Linked DNA regions of Homo sapiens: region 2 is linked to region 1. Evidence: promoter capture Hi-C in 16 types of primary human blood cells and fetal thymus (Javierre and others, 2016). All regions are on one chromosome and are shown on one strand. Each heading gives the region's core, a stretch centred on a gene start or on the middle of the fragment in contact. The rest is flanking DNA. Distances are from core to core; before and after follow the strand shown. Region 1 holds the start of ACTRT3 (actin related protein T3). Region 2 overlaps PRKCI (protein kinase C iota).

What was found. The method cuts DNA at HindIII sites, captures the fragments that hold promoters and counts their contacts. A CHiCAGO score of 5 or more calls a contact.
Region 2: a contact is called between a fragment that was not itself captured here and the fragment with the promoter of ACTRT3 in region 1, in 1 of 17 cell types (activated CD4 T cells). The highest score is 6.7, in activated CD4 T cells.

Annotation. Positions count from the first base shown.
Region 1 is chr3:169,768,156-169,774,665 of GRCh38, forward strand. It overlaps ACTRT3 (actin related protein T3), which reads right to left and starts at 1,406. Exons shown (of 2, transcript NM_032487.5): 1 at 1,166-1,406; 2 at 1-195. The coding sequence starts at 1,365. It overlaps MYNN (myoneurin), which reads left to right and starts at 5,241. Exons shown (of 8, transcript NM_018657.5): 1 at 5,241-5,307; 2 at 6,110-6,406. The coding sequence starts at 6,141. TRV-AAC1-1 (tRNA-Val (anticodon AAC) 1-1) reads left to right here and starts at 4,075; the gene lies at 4,075-4,147. RefSeq lists enhancers at 129-273, 1,135-1,394, 1,486-1,630, 3,791-3,890, 4,781-5,330 and 2 more, cis regulatory regions at 201, 1,558 and a silencer at 1,475-1,544. The HindIII fragment of the contact is 4,942 bases long and covers 1-3,903 here.
Region 2 is chr3:170,277,382-170,284,026 of GRCh38, forward strand. PRKCI (protein kinase C iota) reads left to right here. Exons shown (of 18, transcript NM_002740.6): 9 at 2,846-3,022; 10 at 3,785-3,882; 11 at 4,501-4,587. Among named protein-coding and RNA genes, the nearest start is that of PRKCI, 58 kb to the left of the region's middle. The HindIII fragment of the contact is 3,853 bases long and covers 2,872-6,645 here.

The DNA of each region.
Region 1 (6,510 bases), core at 156-2,655:
TAGAAGGCAGGAACACCCAGATGCTCAAAAAACATTTCCGTGATCTGTTGCCGGTTGGCCAGTGGGTTCAGCGCTGGCTCAGTAATCAAGACTGGGCCATCACACGGCTTCAGCTTTAGGTTATAGTCATAGATATGCTTCCACATGATCTCCATGTCCTCCCATGAAGTAATGAGACCACGCTCCACTGGGTAACTGTAAGGAAAGCAATAAGATCAATGACAGCTTTTTATTTTTCTAGTTTCTATTGTCTTCGACCCTCAGTTAATTCCCCGCGTTTATTACCAATATCCCTTTATGGGCAATAACTGCCACAGCCTCTCACAGCAGGTAAGTGTCAGCCAAAAATAGCACAGCTACTTACCTCTGCAATTTTTTTTTTTTTTTTTGGAGACAGAGTCTCGCTCTGTCACCCAGGCTGGAGTGCAGTGGCGCGATCTCAGCTCACTGCAAGCTCCGCCTCCCGGGTTCACGCCATTCTCCTGCCTCAGTCTCCTGAGTAGCTGGGACTACAGGCGCGCGCCACCACGCCCGGCTAATTTTTTTGTATTTTTAGTAGAGACGGGGTTTCACCGTGTTAGCCACGATGGTCTCGAACTCCTGACCTCGTGATCCGCCCTGCTCGGCCTCCCAAAGTGCTAGGATTACAGGCGTGAGCCACCGCGCCCGGCCTACCTCTGCGATTTTTGTTGCTTTCCATTTTCTCTGTCCTTTGGAACCTTGTGACTTTTAAAAAATTGGGAAATGTCCACATTATAGTATAGTTTAAATGTCAATTGAAGAGAATAACCCAAGTGACAAAAGGGACCATGAGTTAATATTCTTAAATGAATTCGTTCGATAACTTTATACGTTTTAATACATTTGTATAGCCACAGAGAGCAAAATGTTCAGTTTTTAGATGTGTGGTACCCTTGGAGATTTGTGGCCCGTGCGTTTGTAGTAATTCCAGCTGGATGGGGCTTTCCAGCTCCCGGCTTTCTTATTCTTTCTGTCCCCATTGCGCACCTCCTTTGGGGTCCTTTCCTGCCCCCCGACAACACCCCCAGTCCCCCCACCCCCAGCCACCCCAGCCCCACCCCCCAACCTCCCCAGCCCCACCCTACCCCACCCCCACCCCACCCACCCTCCCCAGCCCCAGCAGCCTGCTGGGAGAAGGAGGTACCTGATGAACAGCGAGCTCCTCCAGTCCTGAGCTTGGTCGCCCACGCAGAGTTCTAGCCCGCCCTGGGCCGCGCGGCTCTGGCCCTTGGCGCGGCCGATAATGTTCGGGTAGATAAACTGGGGCTCCCGGCACCCAGCCACGCCCGCCTTGATCATTCCCGAGCCGTTGTCGATCACCACCGGTAGCTGGCAGTGGTTCATGCCGCCGCTGCTGCCGCCGCCTCCTGTCTCTGAGCCGCTCTAGCTACGGGCTCGGCCGGGGCCGAGTGCCTGGAACGCCGCGTCACAGAGGCCCCGGCACGGCCGGGTGAGGCCAGAGTCCTGGGGGCGCAGGCAGGGGGTCGGCAGGGCCCCAGGCGGAAGGACTCGCTGGACGCACCGTGCTCCTCATGTTACCGCCCGCTATTGCTTCTCGCAGGAATTGGGCCACCCCAACACCTGGAATCCCGGAATCCCAGTATCAGGAAAACCCGACTTTCGCATCAAAAGATTCAACTCTAACCCTTCACAAGTGCATTTCTCAAATACCCAGAAGAGCTATAACAGCAGTTTTATTTTCCAAAGCCACGGAATTCTGGTTAACTGGTGGCGGTTCCGGGGAGTTCTAGAATTCGCCCTTGAAACTGGGGAAAAATGAGACTTAAGAGGAGAAAGTTGTTGCAGGAAGGGAGGCAGTGTCTGCTTCTGAAATGTTAAACTTCTAAAATAAGGAGAAAAATGCTGGAATTTAAATGAGTTTTAAGTACGTTTATTATTGTTTCTGTACCTTGGGCAATGCTTTGTTGTGTTTCTTCCTGTGATTTCCAAGCAAAATGTACGCAATTAAAACAAAATAGTAGTTCCTAGCTTAAATATGTAAATAAATATAAATTTATATATATTTATATAAATATATATAAATTTAAATATAAAATATTAAAAAATATATAAATTTATATAATTTATATAAATATATGTTATATTATATAAATATATTTATATATTTATAAAATATATATTTATATATTTAAGCAAGGATATAAATCGAAATATATATATTTATATTTATTATATGTATAAATATAAATATATAAAAATTTATATTTATATTTATTATATGTATAAATATAAATATATAAAAATTTATATTTATATATCATAAATATAAATATATAAAAATTTATATTTATATATCATAAATATAAATATATAAAAATTTATATTTATATATCATAAATATAAATATATAAAAATTTATATTTATATATCATAAATATATAAAAATTTATATTTATATATCATAAATATATAAAAATTTATATTTATATATCATATATAAAAATTTATATTTATATATCATATATAAAAATTTATATTTAGATATCATATATAAAAATTTATATTTAGATATCATATATAAAAATTTATATTTAGATATCATATATAAAAATTTATATTTAGATATCATATATAAAAATTTATATTTAGATATCATATATAAAAATTTATATTTAGATATCATAAATAAAAATTTATATTTAGATATCATAAATAAAAATTTATATTTAGATATCATAAATAAAAATTTATATTTAGATATCATAAATAAAAATTTATATTTAGATATCATAAATAAAAATTTATATTTATATATCATAAATATATAAAAATTTATATTTATATATCATAAATATATAAAAATTTATATTTATATATCATAAATATATAAAAATTTATATTTATATATCATAAATATATAAAAATTTATATTTATATATCATAAATATATAAAAATTTATATTTATATATCATAAATATATAAAAATTTATATTTATATATCATAAATATATAAAAAATTATATTTATATATCATAAATATATAAAAAATTATATTTATATATCATAAATATATAAAAAATTATATTTATATATCATAAATATATAAAAAATTATATTTATATATCATAAATATATAAAAAATTATGTTTATATATAATAAATATATAAAAAATTATGTTTATATATAATAAATATAAAAATTTGTTTATATATAATAAATATAAAAATTTATGTTTATATATAATAAATATATAAAAATTTATGTTTATATATAATAAATATATAAAAATTTGTTTATATATAATAAATATATAAAAATTTATGTTTATATATAATAAATATATAAAAATTTATGTTTATATATAATAAATATATAAAAATTTATATTTATATATAATAAATATAAATATATATATTTCGATTTCTATCCTTCTGGTGTAATCTGCAAGCCTCATTCGCTACTCTTGATTTTTAGGCTGAAGGACGTGCCTGTCTTTTTGCAGGAAAAGTGAAGTTTATCAGGTCATATGAAATTCAAGTTTGGAAAAATTTGAAAGTACATTGCATGTCAATAAACGCATCTTGGTGTCTGATTCTGCATACATCTGTAGAGAATTTGAAAACAAGCAGTCAATTTAGAACTTCTGCTTGGTCTTCGGAAGCAAAAAGAGGAAATTCAAAAGTAATTTTACACGTCCTTCCACCAGAAGCTGAAAGGATGGCTTTTTCGCGGCTGAATAACGAAAGCCCCCTGCTTCGCCCCGGACTCTGAGCAGCTCAACCTGCGGAAAGGATGTGTAATAAAACGCCTTTCCAGGGAGACAAAAAAAAAAAAGGCCACCCAAAGGAAGGGCAACTCGGGAGTGCCTGGTTTCTACTGCGGTACCCGGGCACTTTGGAAGAAAGTGCGTGCAGATTCAAGCTTTTGAAATGGTTTCAGCTCTGTTCAATTGGGCATAGGCTATTTTTCCTTTTCTGTTTTTTTCTTTAAATACATTATATTCATTCCTCTCAATTTGATAATAATCACTTGAGAATTGCGAATTGACACTTACATATCAAGGACTTTACAAAACCCTCTCCAAAGTGGGGTTTCCGTAGTGTAGTGGTTATCACGTTCGCCTAACACGCGAAAGGTCCCCGGTTCGAAACCGGGCGGAAACACACTAAAAAATCCCTTTTTTTTTTTTTTTTTTTTTCCTTCGCTTGGAAGAAAGCGTGAGATCACGCTTTGTTTTCTTTTGTTGTTTGTTTTGTTTTTTTTTCTGAGGGAAGCCTTAGCTTAATGTATGCCGGTCCTTCAAAAGACATGATAGCAATTTGAGAGTCTGAACTGTAAGTTTTTGTTACTTTATTCGTTCACCAAATGTTTTTATGGAAGCCTTGCCACGTGGAACATGTGTCCCGGGTTTTAAAAAATGAATTTGACTCACCAGCTAACACTGAAAAAATAATGTACAGCCTAGAAGGAAAGATCAAAGTGTAAAAGTGGTTAGTCCTGTCGCCTCCTGAGCATTTTTGTATTATATCACTTGGTTTTTCGTCTGAAGTGGCTGTAAATAATCGTATTAAAAATCTTCTGGTCCAGACGCAGGAAAACCTTTTCCGGTATAAAGCCCACCTTCCTCTAATGTTGCGCATGCCCACTGTGCCCAGCTGCTCCGCTTTCGTGCATCCCAGACTTCTGTCACCAGGTAAGGGCATCTTGGAAGCTGAGCTACAGTTGGCTGGGGCACAAAAAAACCAGGGGGTGCCAAGAGTTTTCAGGTACGTAAGCGGGAAAGGGGTGCCAAGTCTCAGCTAAAAAATCCCCTATGGCAGAGATCCGAGTACACATGCAGCAGTTTCCACCGGTGGGGCCCCGAGGAAGGGGAGGATGATGGGAGAAGACAAGCAACTACAAGCCCCCGCACGCAGTGCGCAGCTGGCTTCAGGAGAGAGGCCCGCGGTGCTGTGCTGCCGGGCCTCGGCGCAGAGCCCCGGCAGAGCGCCAGACGCTGACTGCCGGCACCAGAATGCTCGCGATGAGGAAGACAGGCGGAGCGCTGCGAGCTAGCGAGCCCTCAGCTCTCGTATCCATGACGCCTGCTGCTTCGGGGGACCCCTGGCATGCTGGGGAGTGGGTCTCTGTGGTACATCCTGTACCGCCCTGGCCGGCGCCGGACCCCCATGGCCCCAGAACCTCCCGCACTGCCACGGGAAGACAGAGCCGGACGTGACGCCACCGTGGAAGGAAGGGAGGGGCGGAGCGTGGCTCGGTGACGTCCTCCCAAGATGGCGGAGACAGAGTGAAGAAACTGTGTTCCCCCCTTGGGTTGCTATCGGTGAGTTCCTACTTCACCCCCAGCCCGCCATCCCGGTCTCTCTAGAGCCTGGGCCATCAGAGGGCAGGCTCCTTGGAGTTCCAGCACGGGTCGGGGCGCAGGTGGAAGGCTTGGGCTAGGCAGCCCCGGGGTGGCCTGGGCCACAACCTCTGCTGTGGAAATTCGCGGGAGTGGGAGCTGGGCAGAGGGCAGGGCGGCAGAAGCCGAGGAGGGACTGGCTTTGGTTGTCACTCTCGGATGCCGCCTCGCGTAGAGAGTGGGAAGGGAGAAGGTGTGGCCTCCTTAGCGCGAGTGATAGAACCTTTGACAGCAAGCCATGGCCGGGCGCATTCCCGGCTTTCTGGGCAGCCACCTCTCGTTTTGGAGAAACTGCACTGGGGAAACTAACAGGTTTTGGTGACTTGAGAGCAGTTTTTAAAAACTCGTACTGTTCTGCCCCTATCTGTCCCAAGAGATCATGTCTTAGTGGTTTAAAAAATTTTTTTGTAACATAAGTATGTCTACTGAGCTTGAAAATCTGAGGGTTCAACAGATGTGAAAGCGTCAGGTTTTGCTGTGCTTTTTGCAGGTGGTAGAAGTGTTGCCATTCACCGTCACTTATTGATGTGTCCAAAGGATTGTGTTAGTTGATCAAGGTAACCAAAGATAGAAAGGCACTCATCCCTTCATTCTTAACCATGTATGTTTGATAAGGATTTTCAAGGGGGCTAAAATTGTTTAAGTTATGTCCTCTGTCCCTTCCCTCACTGAACGTTGATGAGAACTTACGGTTACTGATTTACTGTTTCTTTTTGTCTTTTAGATCAAGGGTAAAATTCCATTCTGATATCAAAATGCAGTATTCGCACCACTGTGAGCACCTTTTAGAGAGACTGAACAAACAGCGGGAAGCAGGTTTTCTCTGTGACTGTACCATAGTGATTGGGGAATTCCAGTTTAAAGCTCATAGGAATGTGCTGGCCTCCTTTAGTGAGTATTTTGGTGCGATCTACAGAAGCACTTCTGAGAACAATGTCTTTCTTGATCAGAGTCAGGTGAAGGCTGATGGATTTCAGAAACTGTTGGAGTTTATATACACAGGAACTTTAAATCTTGACAGGTAAAGTACACATTTTATTTTCAGTTATAAAAGCTAGTCAGTAGTCTTCACAGCAAAAGTAGATTTGTATTTTTTCCATTCATTCTCTGAACTCAAATTCTTCA
Region 2 (6,645 bases), core at 3,548-6,047, 510 kb after region 1:
ATACCATCTCACACCAGTCAGAATAGCTGTTACTAAAAAATCAACTTGGGCGTGATGGCTCACACATGTAATCCCAGCACTTTGAGAGGCTAAGGCGGAAGGATTGAGCCTGAGAGTTCAAGAGCAGCCTAGGCAACATAGTCTCTACTAAAAATACAAAAAATTAGCCAGGCTCGGTGGCAGGCGCCTGTAGTCCCAGCTGCTCGGGAGGCTGAGGCAGGAGAATGGTGTGAACCCAGGAGGCGGAGCTTGCAGTGAGCAGAGACTGTACCAGTGCACTCCAGCCTGGGCGAAAGAGCGAGACTCCGTCTCAAAAAAAAAAAAAAAAGAAAATTACAAATAACACTTTTACTGTTTCTCTAGAAGATGCAGTGACCTTGGCACACCTTAAATTCATTCCTTTTCCATTCCTGCCTTTGGGTGTTATTATTATCAGAGTTTAAAATTCTGTGTGTGTGTATATTTGTTTTTTTAAACAGTTACTCCTTATGTAGATTTACCCACATTTTACCCTTTTTGTTTTTCTTTCCTTCCTACGTCTGTTCCTCCATCTGAGATCATGCATTTTCTCCTTCAAGAACTCAATTTAGTTTTTCCTTTAGTGAGCACCTAGTAGTGATGGATCCACTCAGTTTTTCTTTGTCTGAAAATGTTTTTCTTTCACTTTCACTTTGTGAGCTACTTTTGCAGGATAGAGAATTCTAGGTCAGCTGTTTTCTTCTTTTTTAGGCCCTTTGAAGATGACATTTCACTGTTAAGTGGCGTCTATCATTTCATTCAGCCTTATTATTGTGTCGGTGAAGTTAACTCTATCTTTTTTGCTCCACTTGATTCTCTCTTATAGTTTCCAGTTAGCCATATTTCAAGTCTATGTGTTGACTTACTTTCTTACACTTCTCTTCTTTCTTAACCTTCTCAAACCTGGTTTCTTTTCACTCTGCTGTATTTACCCTTGTGTGTTAGTCTGTTTTGTGTTGTTACAAAGGAATACCTGAAGGTTGGGTGTGGCAGCTCACACCTATAATCCTAGGACTTTAGACCGGGAGGATCATTTGAGGCCAGTAGTTCAGGACCAGCCTTGGCAACATAGCAAGACCCTCCATGTCTACAAAAAATAAATAAAAATTAGCCGGGTTTGGAGGCACATGCCTGTAGCCCCAGCTACTTGGGAGACTGAGGCAGGAGGATCACTTGAGCCCAGGAGTTCATGGCTGCAGTGAGCTATGTTCGTGCCACTGCACTGCAGCCTGGGTGACAGAACAAGACCTTTTCTTAAATAAATAAATAAATGAAGGAAGGAATAAAGGAATACCTAAGGCTGGGTAATTTATACAAGATTTATTTGGTGCACGGTTCTGCAGGCTGATCAGTAAGTATTGCACTAGCATCTGCTTCTCAGGAAGCTTTCAGTCTTGGCAGAAGGCAAAGGGGAAGCAGGTGTGCCACATGGCAAGAGAGGGAGCAAGGGAGTCAGGGGAGGTGCCACACTCTGAACTCACTCATTACACAGGAACACACCAAGCCATTCATGAGGAATCTGTCCCTGTGACCCAAACACCTCCCACTAGGGATCACATTTCAGCATGAGATTTGAGATTTGGAGGGGTCAGATATACAAACTATCACCTTGTTACCAAATCAAATTATTATTATTATTACTATTATTGACAGGGTCTCACTTTGTGATGCAGGCTGGAGCGCACTGGCACAATCACAGCTCACTGCAACCTTGACCTGCCTGGCTCAGGTGATCCTCCCACCTCAGCCTCCCAGGTAGCTGGGACTACAGTGCACACCACCAACATCCGGCTAATTTTTGTATATTTTGGTAGAGATGAGGTTTCTTGGCACATTGCCCAGGCTGGTCTTGAACTCCTGGGCTCAATCAGTCCACCTGCTTCAGCCTCCCTAAGTGCTGAAAATACAGGCATGAGCCACTGTGCGCAGCCTAAATTATTATTTCTAAGTTTTTAAGTTGTCATTCTCACTCAGTTTTTCTAATACCCTTCTTTCAGTTTTGTGCTTGCGGGTTTCTTTATCTTTCTCAAAATTTACTATTTGCTTTTCTTGGTATTCTTCACTTCAGAGATTTCATACTTTATTCTCATGGGTCCATTGTGTGCTGATGATTTTGCAGGCATCTAATAAAAGACTGTCTTCAGGCTTCTCTGTAAATTGCTAGAAGCTTACATTTGTAGTTGTGAATGAATTTTAAGGCTTACTTTGTCGTCCCAAAGGGGTCTTGGTATTCTGTGGAAAAGAATGTCTTCCATTCGCTGAACTACTTCATGCTTGTTTTCTGTCTATAGCATCCAAAAACGCCTCTGAATGTGTGCTCTCACTAGCTTACATTCTATGTATCAAGCTTCCAGCAGACTCTTTCATCTTGATGTCTCATTATAACTTCTGAATTTATCATGAAAAACCCAATCGTTCTCTCCAGTAACTTTGTCAATCTTATCCTAGCCACACACTTGACGTTCCCTGTCAGTGGTACCCCCAATCTCTTGGTCACCAAGGTTAATGTGTTTTTTTAATTCCTGCATCTCTATTGCCTCTGTACCCAAAAGTTATCGTATCCTTTTTAAGACATCCTTCGATGTTTTTGTGATTTCAACTCCCTCCCCATTCTTATTACCATCCCTCTTATCTCAAAATTCATCCATATAATCTGGATAGTTAGATTATTTGGTTTGGAATGACATTTGAAAAATATTAAGAACTTAAAATATTTTTATGTTAGGAAAATATCTTTAAATCGTTATAGGTACAACTAGGTGTTAGAAATATAATGTACTACGCAAAGCATTTCCCATTATAACTCTGATACAAATGTTCTCAACAGGCAATGAACACCAGGGAAAGTGGCAAAGCTTCATCCAGTCTAGGTCTTCAGGATTTTGATTTGCTCCGGGTAATAGGAAGAGGAAGTTATGCCAAAGTACTGTTGGTTCGATTAAAAAAAACAGATCGTATTTATGCAATGAAAGTTGTGAAAAAAGAGCTTGTTAATGATGATGAGGTAAGCACTGCATATTTTATTGCTTCTAAACTGCTTGAGAATACTATTCTTTTTTTTTTTTGAAACGGAGTTTCGCTCTTGTCACCCAGCCTGGAGTGCTAGTGGTGCAATCTTGGCTCACTGCAACCTCTGCCTCCCAGGTTCAAGTGATTCTCCTGCCTCAGCCTCCCAAGTAGCTGGGATTACAGGCATGCACCACTATGCCCAGCTAATTTTTGTATTTTTAGTAGAGATGGGGTTTCACCATGTTGGCCAGGCTGCTCTTGAACTCCTGACCTCAAGTGATCCACCCGCCTCAGCCTCCCAAAGTTGCTAGGAATATAGGCGTGAGCCACCGCACCCAGCCAAGAGTACTATTTTAAAGAAAACCTCTATGTTTGTGCTTTATTATCTCATTCTGCTTTTCTAAATATGTGCTAAGTAAATGAAATATATTATTTCGGTTTACTTTTCTTATAGATGGTATAAGATATTTAAAGTAATTTGATTATTAGATTTTTTTAAAAAAACAAAAATCAAACCACATTATTATCAGGAGAAATACTTGAGCTTTGTAAAAGTTTTCTAGACAGTTTTATAATACTGAAAGATTGACTAGTGTTATTTTTCTCTTTGTATGTAAATTTTCGTTTCATGATTATCAATGGTTTTGATATTTAGCCTAGTTAACCATTGCATTTGTGACCATTGAATTGCTCAGAGCAAATTTATCATTAATTGTGATATCAGTTTGACATAGATTTCTTACATGTTTCAAAATAGGATATTGATTGGGTACAGACAGAGAAGCATGTGTTTGAGCAGGCATCCAATCATCCTTTCCTTGTTGGGCTGCATTCTTGCTTTCAGACAGAAAGCAGGTAAGATTGAAAGATAGTAGAATGATTACTGGGCTTCATATTTTTGGTCATATTACACAGTTAGAACCTTTCTGCCCTAATTCATGAAGTTGATATCATGGAGGATGCAACAGTGTTAGGCTTATAACTTCCTGCTAATAATACTGCCATCAGTGATATCAGTTTGATATTAGATCAGCATTAGGAAATGACCTACTTTAGGCAGAACAGGAAATAGCCATGTCGTAATTATGGCAGTAGAAATCCAACCTTTTAAATATCCCCAGTATTCTAGTTTTATGACTTAAAATTTTCTAGCATTTAACAAGGAGGAAAAATACCTTGACAGTCGAAAATGACTTATTTAGCAAATGCTAAAATTAGGATGGTAATGAGTGGCTCTGGATTGCAAGTGGTACTACTTTAGAACAGAAGTAGTAGGTTACAAAATTATTATCATGCTGGTTTACTTTCTCGTATGTTCCGTACCCTAGATACCCTTTGTTTCCACCAAAATTTTGGCATCTTTTTAAAGGCTAAATAGTAGAGAATGCTCTCTGTTGTGATGGTTTCTGAAAATGCAAAGTTACACTACCTTATTTTGGATCTTGATTTCATGGGTTCTCTCCTGTGTTTTAGATTGTTCTTTGTTATAGAGTATGTAAATGGAGGAGACCTAATGTTTCATATGCAGCGACAAAGAAAACTTCCTGAAGAACATGCCAGGTGAGTTTTTGTTTACTGTTTGTGTTGTTTTCTTTTTGGGGCCATGTGGCTTTTTATGTGCAGTGGTTGGAAACAGTAGATAAATAATTTATTTTGATACTAGTTAATTATTTGTAAGTCATGCAGAGGCTGAGCTAAAAGTTAATTTACATTATATATATGTAAAACAATTATATATTCTTTTACATTTATACACATACATGTACATACACATGCACACAGTGCTTCCTAAGCAATTGAAAAGTGTGAACAGTATTAAAAGGCAAACCTTTAGTCTGCTAAAACCAATCCTTTTCAAATATTATGTCTATGTAGCATCAGCCATTTAAATAATTGAGACTAATAAACACTTATTAGTCTTTTCAGGTTTGTAGTGGTCTCTCAGAGAGTTCTTCACGATAAGAGTGCTATTCATACATACTTGAGAGTAATTAAACGATCCCTCTGGCTGGGCACAGTGGCTCACACCTCTAATCCCAGCACTTTGGGAGGCTGAGGCGGGCGGATCACCTGAGGTCAGGAGTTTGAGACCAGCCTGGCCAACATGGTGAAACCCTGTCTCTACTAAAAATACAAAAATTTGCTGGTCGTGGTGGCGGGTGCCTGTAATCCCAGCTACTCAGGAGGCTGAGGCAGGAGAATTGTCTGAACCCGGAAGGCGGAGGTTGCAGTGAGCCCAGATCGCACCACTGCACTCCAGCCTGGCCAACAGAGCAAGACTCTGTCTCAAAAAAAAAAAAAAAAGATCCCTCTTAAACTAGTATATACTTCTGACTGTTCTTCCTGTGATTTATTGTTCTTTGGCTTTTTTTTCCTCTAATCCCATAATTATTGATGAATAAAATAATATCGAATAGGCCAGGCGCAGTGGCTCATGCCTGTAATCCCAGCACTTTGGGAGGCCGAGGCGGGTGGATCATGAGGTCAAGAAATCGAGACCATCCTGGCCAACATGGTGAAACCCCATCTCTACTAAAAATATAAAAATTAGCCGGGCGTGGTGGCGGGCACCTGTGGTCCCAACTACTTGGGAGGCTGAATTAGGAGAATCGCTTGAGCCCGGGAGGCGGAGGTTGCAGTGAGCTGAGATTGCGCCACTGCACTCCAGCCTGGGTGAAAGAGCGAGACTCCGTCTCAAAAAAAAAAAAAAAAGTATTGAATATTAATTTTGTGCCCTTAATTTGATATTAATATACAAGACTGTAAATTGTTTATGTGTTGGATGGAGGAGATAGGTGGGAAGGGATCATGGCCTTGAGTAAAAAGTTTAATCCATCAGTACCATGTTTTGTTTCTTATCCGTAATCAGCAGTAATTCTCACCCTTTCCTACTTCACAAGAGTAATGCCAAAATGAAGCATGTGAGTTTGTATATGTATGTTATTATCATGCAGGGAATAAATATTAGAAATTTCATTTAAATTAAAAACTTGTAGAAAATTTGCTACTTCATTATTGCTTGTCAAAAATTTCATAAGAAGATATAAATTGTACTTGTCTAATCTTGAGGCCAACCTGGGTTTTTTGTTTATTTGGGTTTTTTTGTTGTTGTTTTGGTGTTCATTTATGTTCATTGTGTATTTATGCCTTATCAAATGGTCACCCTTCATAGAGCCACAGATGATATTTTGAATTGTGAACATAGCCAATATTTGTTCCTTGTTTGTTCAGTTGAATGTGGGAAAGCTAGTCTGGTTTTTACTATATTAATGTGCCAGTTTTGGTTTTATACCATCTTTGCTTTTGTAAGAACTAAAGCCCAGGACAAGGGCTTAAGTTCCCAAATCACGGAATTAAGTAGCTAGGAGGTGTATGTTACGTACCTCCACACATGATCATGATAATGTGCCACCAAAGCAGCCATACATCAGCTCAGGCATTCCATTTTCATTATTCAGGCCAAAAGTTCTGGGTTGTCACCAGTGAGTTGGTAGCAGTTTTTTTAAGTTCTTCATTTAATATTAAATTTTACAGTTGTTTATAGTTGTAGAATATTTTCATTTAATTCCTTTTCTAAAACCTTCATGAGGATTTTATAGTATTGAGTAGTCAGCTTGT